Linked DNA regions of Homo sapiens: region 1 is linked to region 2. The links are contacts of gene promoters, found by promoter capture Hi-C in blood cells and fetal thymus (Javierre and others, 2016). All regions are on one chromosome and are shown on one strand. The core of a region is centred on a gene start or on the middle of the fragment in contact, and the rest is flanking DNA. Distances in the headings are between cores, read along the strand shown. Region 1 overlaps ZNF566 (zinc finger protein 566). Region 2 holds the start of ZNF229 (zinc finger protein 229).

Evidence for each region. The method cuts DNA at HindIII sites, captures the fragments that hold promoters and counts their contacts. A CHiCAGO score of 5 or more calls a contact.
Region 1: a contact is called between a fragment that was not itself captured here and the fragment with the promoter of ZNF229 in region 2, in 1 of 17 cell types (non-activated CD4 T cells). The highest score is 6.1, in non-activated CD4 T cells.

What each region holds. Positions count from the first base shown.
Region 1 is chr19:36,472,786-36,477,932 of GRCh38, forward strand. ZNF566 (zinc finger protein 566) reads right to left here. Exons shown (of 5, transcript NM_001145344.1): 2 at 3,764-3,831; 3 at 547-673; 4 at 126-221. The coding sequence starts at 3,772. Among named protein-coding and RNA genes, the nearest start is that of ZNF566, 14 kb to the right of the region's middle. The HindIII fragment of the contact is 7,755 bases long and covers 1-5,147 here.
Region 2 is chr19:44,444,780-44,450,315 of GRCh38, forward strand. ZNF229 (zinc finger protein 229) reads right to left here and starts at 3,693. Exons shown (of 6, transcript NM_014518.4): 1 at 3,530-3,693; 2 at 2,734-2,821. The HindIII fragment of the contact is 11,359 bases long and covers 1-5,536 here.

The sequences.
Region 1 (5,147 bases), core at 131-2,630, 8.0 Mb before region 2:
TGTAGAAAAGGTCTTACATTTGCACAACAGGCCAAAAGCCTGTGAGGAGAGTTTCCCAGATAGCATCTAAAAGATGCAGTCTCTCTACCAGCCAAATCACGCATTACCTGCTGTGCCTCACTTACCTGGCCACTGGCCTCTTGTTAGCTCTCTGTCAGCCAACCAGGGCTCCTTCCCTTGCTCCAAGTAGGAGATCACATTTGGTTTAGAAATAGAATGCCCTGCTTACAAAAGAAGTAACAAAACAAATTTATCATGAGCATATCCTAGAATTCAAATCCAGTCCCTTCATTATAAAGAAAGACATGGCATTATGAGAAGAGTCAAAGAGAGGTACAACGGACTTATGAAACATAACGGAAGATGTAAAACATCCCCAAAAACTCAATGCAGCTTCCTTTTTCTAACTCTACCATATTCAGAACATTCCTGTGGAACAGGATATCAAAATTCGACTGGTTTTTGAAAGCCAGGTGAGCATTTCACATTGGAGGAAGTAGGCCTTCCAAGGGCAGAATCTAAATTACTATGGACAGATGTCCTTACCCATTGAAACCAGGTTGCTGTAATTCTCCAACATCACATCTCTGTATAAATCTCTCTGATCATCATTCAGGCATTCCCACTCCTCCTGAGAGAAGTCTACGGACACATCACTGAACATCACTGACTCCTGGAACAATAACCACGTATATGACTTCATTAATTTTTTAAAAAGTACTTTTGTGAAGGAAAGAGAGAAGAAAAAGATTAAGGTAGAGGAAGTAAAATATAGTGAGCATATGAATGTCTGGGAAGCAGTGGAGGACTGTAAACAAATAAGCACAACTGAATCACTGGGTTTCCAGGTCATTCTGTTTCCTCCAAATGAAACTGCCTGAGTATGCTAGGATACCTCCATTATCCAAACAAGGTTGGGAAGGTACAAAAATTCAGCTAAGAGGGCTTTTCCAATTAAATGAAATTGTATATGCAATGCCTCACACTATACCTGTCATATAATAAATCAACGATACATGTGATCTTTCTCCCTCTCTTTTCCCAAATAGCTGAGAGTCAAATTTCAGAATAAGGGATAAAGACATTAAAAGCCACCAGAGAGAAGAGCAGGTCATATAAAAGGCATCAAAAATTAGAGGGGCAATGGAATTCTCAAGAACACCTCTAAAAGCAAGAAACAATAAGAACGATTCTTCAATATTCTGATGGAGAAAATAAACTCTGACCTAGACTTTCATAAACAAACTATCATTCTGTTTTGAGTGTTGAGAAAAGACATTTGTAGACATCCAAGGACTCAAGAAGAGTTTCTTCAGAAACTTCTAGAGGATGTGGTCCACAAAAACGAGGGAGTAAACAAAAAAAGAAGACAACATAGGATTCAGGAAGTAGGTAAAGTTTCAGGAAAGCTGTGACTGAGAGAGTAAACCAGACCAGATGGGAACAAGGAAACAGGAAATGGGGAATCAAGTCTCTATATCAAAAGGAACTGATGTGTCTGACCAGAGGGAAAACGTATTGATTGGCCTGTGGCAATGATGCTGGAGATTCTGGATATAAACACACAAATGACTAGGCAAATGAGGGGGGAAGCAATTAACCCCAGGAAAATGAAGGGTTGTATAGAACAAAGCCATGAGCTCGCTTGGCAGAGAATAATATTTGCAGCCGTAATAAGGTGTATACTATTGATTTAACCAAAAATGGTGATATGGTAACAGTCAGGAAAAACGAAAGTGCAGTATGGGAATACAATGTTCCCTTTAACTTTGCAATCAGTCAAGAGATAATGACTAAAGTGGGTTTATCGAAAAATGGTAGTAAACCAATTTTCAAGAGTTGAGGGCAGTGGCCTCTTGGAGTGGGTCTGGTAACGGGACAAAACCAGAATTGAACTATTTCCCTTGTAGACATGTGTAAAATTACTTTTAAAAACTTTGTATCTTAGAAAATTAAATTTGCATATAATTTAAGACTCTGATCCATTCCTATGCCAGACTATTATATAATAAGAAATATTCCTTGTTACAACAAATGCTATTCATATGTTTCTCACTGAATACTATTCTATTATAAGGCTATAAATGACATCTATCCTTTTGCCTTTAGAAATTCAGGCTAGAGGTGATCTCTAAAGACCTCGCCAACATTGGCCCAATCTTATTTATAACCACCTACTGCCCAGCTGTAAATTCCCCTTATAACTAAGCTACAGAAAACTGGTGAAGGATGATCCAGTTTCACCGTTGGTATTACTGACATCATTGCTTTTGTTTTTTAAACAGGATCTTCCTCTATCACCCAGGCCAAAGTGCAGTGGCATGATCACATCTCACTGCAGCCATGACTTCCTGGGCTCAAGTGATCCTCCCACCTCAGCCTCCCGAGTAGCTGGGACTACAGGCGTGCACCAACATGCCTGGCTAATTTTTGTATTTTTTGTAGAGATGGGGTTTGCCATGTTGCCCAGGCTAGTCACCTGGGTTCAAGCAAACCACCAGCCTCAACCTCCCAAAATGCTGGAATTACAGGTGTGAGTCACCACGTTTGGCCACTGACATCAATTTTTCATGGATGCTTAGTGAGGTGTGAGAGCTTTGTAACAACCACTAGTCACACTCTCAAACATAAAAGGCTCGTTAACCAGGAGACCTTGCCATGTACTAGGACTGAAATCAAACAAAACCACAGCATGTATTTTCTTATTGGAAAACCCAGGTCTACAGAGCTAATGAGGGCTTTTCCCTATAAGGTGCCCCTAATTACTTATTTTCATCCCATCAAATCACTGTCCAAGCAAATTAAATTCATATTAATTCAATGTGGGGAACACATTTCTGCCCTATCAGGATTTTTGGTAGAAATCTGAGATAGGAGATGCTGAAGGACTTGTAAACCAGCATGTAAACATTGTTTAAAAGCGGGGGGCGGCGGGGAACTGAAGAGGAGACTGGGGTTGTTTAGGAGGAAATGCATGTCCTTTTCCTGACAGGGGACCCTGGAAACCAGTGTAAAAAAAATTATTCCAAACCTGATCTGGGTCAGGTTTTTACATTACATAATTTTTACATTACATAATTCTTAAATCTCTTTATGGAAAGAAAGAAATAAGTATTCTTGATGAAACTGATAGGGGATTTTCTGATGGACATTAATCTAAATTAAAACTTCTTCAGAGAAATTTGTTATTCAACCACTTGGCTGACTAACAGTTAACAGTGAATTAATATAAATTTTTTTCTGGGCACAGTGGCTCATGCTTATAATCCCAGCTCTTTGGGAGGCTGAGGCGGGTGGATAACTTGAGGTCAGGAATTCGAGGCCAGCCTGGACAACATGGCAAAAACTCATCTCTACTAAAAATACAAAAATTAGCTGGGTGTGGTTGTGGGCGCCTGTAATCCCAGCTACTCAGGAGGCTGAAGTAGGAGAATCACTTGAACCCTGGAGGCAGAGGTTGCAGTAAGCCAAGATTGTGCCACTGTACTCCAGCCTAGAAGACAGAGCGAGACTCCATCTCGAAAAAAAAAAAAAAAGGGTAAATTTTCTAACAATGATTATGTAATCAATTCTTTTTTTTTCTATGAATTGGCCTGTTAGAGATCCTTTCCTTTACAGCAAAATTCTGACATTGCTCATAACCAAACTTTTTGAAAGGTGTTGTTTTTCTAACATCAAAAAGCATCATCATGAGGAAAGCAAATGTTTACAGTTACTAGAAGTAAAAATCACTCTATCTGAGCAAAAGGAAACAGTATCTCACCTGAGCCATGGCTCTGATATTTGTAGAAAAGGACCTTCTCTTGGCTCTTCTTTTGGAGAAGGGTAGAGCTGGGAGAGGCAAAAGAAGATAGATAAGACCCCACTTTCCTCACAGCTCCTGGCCCAGAATGATCATTTTCCTTCTGTTCATGCTTCAGAAATGCTTGTGGGGTATCAGTGAGGAGAATGGGCAAATGTCTCTATCATCCCTAGCTTCAAAGATACCAGGCTGTAACTGGAGCAGGATGGATTAGGGCAACTCAATATGGCTTGGAGAATATATGTTTATATACACACACATACATACATATAGATTTTTTTAACTCATATTATACACACTACTTATACACGTTGCTATTTTTACTTTACATATCTTGGAATGAAGTCCCAATTAGCACATATTGTGTTACATAACTGGTTTAATAGCTACATTGCAGTCCATTAAATGGATATAACTTAATTTTTTTTTTCTTTTCTTTTTGAGACAGAGTCTCACTCTGTCCCCCAGGCTGGAGTGCAGTGGTGCAATCTTGGCTCACTGCAACCTCCGCGTCCTGGGTTCAAGCGATTCTTCTGCCTCAGCCTCCCAAGTAGCTGGGACTACAGGCATGTGCCACCACGCCCGGCTAATTTTTTGTATTTTTAGTAGTGATGGGGTTTCACTCTGTTAGCCAGGATGGTCTCGATCTCCTGACCTCATGATCCGCCCGACTCCACCTCCCAATGTGCTAAGATTACAGGTATGAGCCACCGCGCCTGGCCATAACTTTATTTATTTAACCAATCTGTGGCCAATCATCATTTAGGCTTTTTCTAGTTTTTCACTGTAACAAACAATGCTGTAATAAATATCCTTGTGCATATGTCATTTTACCTGTATATGAGTTCTTCACAATTAATTCCTAAAAGTATAATTGCTCAGAGATTATACACATTTTAAGTTTGGATATACCTGGGTCAAACCAGTTTTCTGTTTCTGTTTTTTTTTTGTTTGTTTGTTTGTTTTTTTGAGACGGAGTCTTGCTCTGTCGCCCAGGCTGGAGTGCAATGGCGCGATCTTGGCTCACTGCAAGCTCCGCCTCCCAGGTTCACGCCATTCTCCTGCCTCAGCCTCCTAAGTAGCTGGGACTACAGGCTCCCGCCACCACGCCCGCCTAATTTTTGTATTTTTAGTAGAGACGGGTTTCACCATGTTGGCCAGGCTGGTCTCAAAATCCTGACCTTCCAAAGTGCTGGGATTATAAGCGTGAGACACCACACCCAGCCTTGTGTGTATTCTTTATAAACATCTTCACTTTAAGATGTTTAAAGTGCCCAAAAGAATAAGTTATACTAAAATACTAAAGGAAGACTACATTGTTTAAGGGGAAGAACTGAATTAGTGA
Region 2 (5,536 bases), core at 2,443-4,942:
AAGTTACCCTCACTTCCTCTGACTGGCTGATTTTCAGGGTTTCCAGAGACTTCCGGTGGGTAAAAATTTTCCTTGTGCTTCCTCCTCCTATCCCTGAACTCTTCAGGTCAGGAAGCCTCAAGAGTCAGCACATAAAGTTCTCTATCTTCTTTCACTCCCTTGGTGAACATATCCAGCCTCAGGCCTTCAACACAATCTACACACTGATGACTCCATGGCAACCTGCCATCTCCACTCTTATGTCTAAAAAGCAACTCAAAAAACATGTTCAAAAGAAAAGTCCAGATTTGCCCCTAGAGGTACTTCTCTCCTTTGAAATGAAGAGGAAATATTCTAGTCATCCTTGATTTCTTCCTCGTACTCTACATCCAATCCATCAGCAAATACCTACAAATCAGAACCAGAATCAGATTATTCTTGCTGCCACCGTCCACACCATCATGTCTCACCTGCATTAACGTGACAGCCCCCTAAATGGCCTCTGCATTCCTACTCCTGTTCGTTTCAGTCTACTTCCTACACAGCAGCTGGAGTGATCTTTTAAAAATATAAACTCATATTCTTCTCTGGCCAAAACCATCATTTTACTCAAAACCTTGCACCAAGGTCCTTTCAATGGCCCAAAGACCTTACACTATCTTCCTTCCCAATATTCAGTTTCCCACTTATCCTCCCTCTTTCTCATTCTGCTCAGCTCTGGCTTCCTTGCTGTTCTTCACATGCCCTCATCACCGGGCCTTCGTGTTGTTCTCTTTGCCTTTTTCATCAGATGCCTGCAGGCCCCTCACCTGCTTTGGGTCCCTATTCAAGCACCATTTTCTCAGTGAAATTCATCCCTCATTATCCTTCTCAAATTGGCAAACCAGCACTTCCTACACCCTCCTCTGCTTCATTTTTCTCCATGAAACTGACACCCTACCTACAGTCTATTTTTCTTGTTGACCATCTTTCTCCACCCACAAGAATGTGAACTCTATGAGGGCCAGTATTTCAGTTGGCACCTGGCACACAGCAGGTGCTCAATAAATATTTAAATGGGAGAACGGGAGTAACCTGAACTCAGCTTGCTGATATGGATCCTTGGGTCCTCTTGATGTCATCTTCACAGCAGAAGTGATTTTCTTCTCCAGTTCATGGACTTAGTAATTTGGGTGCTAAGGACTATGCTGGCTGTGTTGGGACCCAAGAGTGAACAGGGCAGACAACGACTCTGTGCTCATGCAGCTGCTAACATTCTAGGTGGAAATCAGCAGCCATAATGAATATCTACTGTGTTCCATGTGCTTAGGATACATTTCTGGACTGCATGGAGCTCACATTGGGGGAGAAAGAGGGTGACAGAAAGAGTTGGTACAAAGGCAGTGGGACAAAGAAGTAATGGGAATAAGAGATAATTGCAGAGGTAGAAATAACAAAACTAAAAGAATAATTCCATGTAGGGATGAAGAGGAGGAGAAATAAATATGATTCTGAGGTTGAAGTCTGAGGAAAACAGGTAAATTATGAAGTTATGATAAAATAATAAGATAGCAAAAGGGAAAGCAGGGTTTTGAAAATTGCAGCTCTAGTTTCTCAAAACTGGAGTTATCAAAAGGTTTAGGTTCGAATTCTGGTTCAGCCACTTTGTAGTTATATTAACACCACAGGAGAGACTTAACCTTTTGAATGAGTCTGTACTTCTGTCAAATAAAGATAATCCTTACTTGCAAAACTAAAATAATTTAAGTTTTTCTCTCTTTCACACACACATGCCTATGTGAATAAACTTCAAAGCCCAGTACGTGGTACACAGAAAATCATCAATATACTATTACCATTGACCCAACCCAGCATTAACCTAGGAATACAGGAACTCATGCATTTAGTAAATGTACATTCAGTGTCTAACAACATCTTAGGAGAATAAACACTAGACATACAGCAGTAAATTAAGATGGAAAAGGTAATTGTTCTCATGGTGCTTACTTTCGGGTGGGTTAATCTCTCTACAAATTAGGTGACCTTTGGTTGCAAAAAGGGCTATGAAGAAAATAAAGCAAACATGATAGATTCCTGTTTTCCAACAAGAATGTAGGTGCTATCAGGTGAACATATGTGGCAGCTGTGGAAAGAGCAACATTAAATCAGGTGGTCAGGGACAGTCTCTAAGAGCTGCCTGACAAATAAATCAGCTGTGAAAAAAGCTGGGATGAGACAAGTCCAGAAGGAAGCATAAGCGCAAAGACCTGGTTTCTGTTTAGAAGGTCTCCTGGCCAGGTCTTACCTGTTAAGTTTTTTTAACTTTTTAAACCTTAGCAACTCATCTGTGACATGGGGATAATAGCTAACATACAAACTTGCTCAGAAAATTCAATAGAAATACATTCATTTATTCAAATATTTATTGGCAAGCCTGGCACTGTCCTAGACACCATGGATAAATAATACCTGGCATATAGTAAGCACTCAGTTAATATACACCATCACAGTTACTCTAATTATTTCTACCCTGCGTTTCTTCAGCATGGCGCTGAAACAGTGTAAGCCTTTACTGACCCAGTGACACACTACTAGGAGCCAAGAAGAGAATACACTAAATAAAGACACTGGGAAATTCCTCAAACCTCCCCCATTTCTAGGGGAAGGCAGGTGTGGCTAAGGGGTCTGAATGAACATTTGTGATATCAATGGGATGAAGAATGAGGTCACCAAGAGACCTGGCATTGCCACAAAAGAGAACCAAAGTTCACTCACCTGGAGCTCTAGTGTCAAGAGATGTGGGGTTATTTCTCCTTCTTTTATACAATTATCTCCGAGAAACGAACAATTCCAAGAAGGAAGCCTGTGAAAGAAAAATGAACAGCAGGATAACATGATTTAATCCCAATTCCCACCACGCCACAGGGGGAAATCTCTCAGTGCCAGCTGGATGTAATCTACCCCTTCCTGTAATCTACCCTCGCTACTTGCTTCAGGAGCCGAGGAAAAGAACCTCTCTTCCTACAGGACTCAGAGTACAAGGGACACGCCATTCCTGATGCCCAAAGAAACCGTCTACAAGCCTACTTTCACTGCCCCTTTCAGGAGACAAGGAGAATCAAGACAAAATCTCAAGATTTTAATCCAGAGCTGACTGTCACATGCTGTGGGACACTTACAAGTGAAATTCTGCCTGTGTGTGCTTAGGCGGCTACAAAAAGCAGAGCCAGCAACGATACAGCAAACCAACTCCTAGGACTTGCACAGCGCTTAATACATTTCAAAGGATAAAATTAGAACACAGGGAATCAACTTCCTGTTTACAGAAATGACTTCGCAGAAAACTCTGAAATTACTCCACAAGTGGGTGGGCGGCTACCCTGAGAAAATTCATGTCATCGATCCGCAACTGACACAGTGGAGTCTCCCGCACTGCAGATCTCATCTCAAAGCCAGAGCTGGCCTCAAACTGCTTTTCCAAGCCTGGACTGCGAGGGCTGCCGACCCGGGCCCACCCCGCACAGGCGCTCAGAATGTTCGATACGTGCGCCTCCTTACACCCCTGCCTCACCAGGCCGAGCTCATGGAAATCCGTGGGCTTCGACCCTCCGCCGCACGTTGTCCCTTCACACTGGTCCTATAGAGCCGATCCTAATTCCCATGGCCTGACAGTACAACCGCATGGAGATGCACGTCTCTAAGACGCCTCACCACTGCCTAAGAAGCAATCAAGGTGACGCGCCCACCGGAAACGGAAGTAGTCGACTCGAGGTGTGGGACTACCTTTCCCAGAACCCTCCGCAGCGCAGTCCGATCCTAGGGGCGATGGTGTCGTAAATGCGCGTCCACCTCGAGTCACGCCCACTGCGAGGCGGCGGGAGGCGGCATGCAAGGTGTTTCTGAGTTGAAAAGAATGTCTTTACTCAGTACTAACATATTCGCGTTGTAGCAAACCTGACTATATTCTCAAACAAGCCCATCATCCCATCACCAGGGATATAAAGCATTATTGATTTTCTGGTGTAAAAGCCAACTAAATATTTATTTCAAAAGTAGTTCATATTACATGTAAAGAATGGTTTAAAAAAAATTCTTACTTAATCCCTGGTTTATGTGAGTAAATATGAATTCTTAAGAATCCCATTTCCCAAATGGCATCATAATATTTTGTAATCATTTCTTGCCACAGGTCATATATCGTGGATAGTTCTGTATGTCACAAAAGACGTAGAGATACATAGAGATAATAAAAAAACACAAATTATTTGCAATACTTGCCTAGCATTCTTTAGTTTTTAGGGAAGTTACCCCTTTGTCCTGCATTGAACTTACACTTCTAATTTTATGATATCAAAACTACACACAATCACTTTCTTTAATATTTTCCCAATTTGATGGACTAAATATCCTGTCTTATTTTCCCAATTTGACAGAGTAAATATGCTTATTACCGATTGCATTTCATTGTCATCTTTTATTGTCATACACTCTCTGTGTATGAATGATATCGCTTCTAAGTGATGAATTGCTCCCCCAGTTTCAACATTTATAAAGTAGTTTAGAAAAAAAAAAAAACAAAAAACTTCATCTGACAAGGTATATCAGTCTTTTCATTTGTGGCTTCTTTTTTTTCTCCAGTATGACCAAAAAGACATTCCTTAGCCTGATTCCCAATAAGTGCATATCTATATTCATTTCAGGCTCTTTCATTTTTCTTTTGAATCACCGCGTGATTCATTTAAGTGTATGATATGAAAGGAAGATGGAGTTTCCTGTTTCACCAAAGGATTGTCTACTTTTCTTAACAAAATTTACATAAATATTAATTCTTTCCTTTCTGATTTAAACGGCATCCTAATCACTTACTACATTACTATATATATAATGAAATATTTTCTGGGATACAAGTGTGTTCTGAAGATAGAGATTGCTTTTTCTGTGCCATGATGAAAGGTTTCAGTTACAGTGATAACTCATTTCCTTATCTCTCCCTCCTTGTTGTGTTTCAAAAATTTCATCCTAGAAGTTCTAGAACTCTCTCTTATAAACAGATTATCGAATTGTTTTGATAAATTCTAAAAAATTGCCAATTGACTCCAAAGCATCCAAGCCCTTCAGATATTTGGTTCCAAACCCACCCCTCTTTGCTTGGGTAGACACAGTCCTACTTCCCATCCTGTGTCCTCCAGTTTTACAAATGTCTGAATTTGCTGCTATTGTTCTTCCCTCTGTAAGTCCATCCTTTCCTGTACTATTAAAATCTTACTCCATATTTAAGACACAACTTGAATATAATTTCCTCTATCGAGTGTTTTTGAACTCTATATCATAATTCAATGAACAGATCAGTCTGTGATTGGGAGAATTTCATGCGAGTGTAGTGGATGTTAAATACCACTCTCAGAACATTCTCATTTCCCCGAGAAATCAATAAATTATATTACTCTGGGATCCAGCAACACATGGTTTAAATTGCTGGTTACCACCTTTCACATGGCCTCCATGGTCAGATCTCTAAGTCATCAAAATAATTGACTCTTCTTTTTCTTTATTTTCTTTATTTACCTTTCATGGCTCT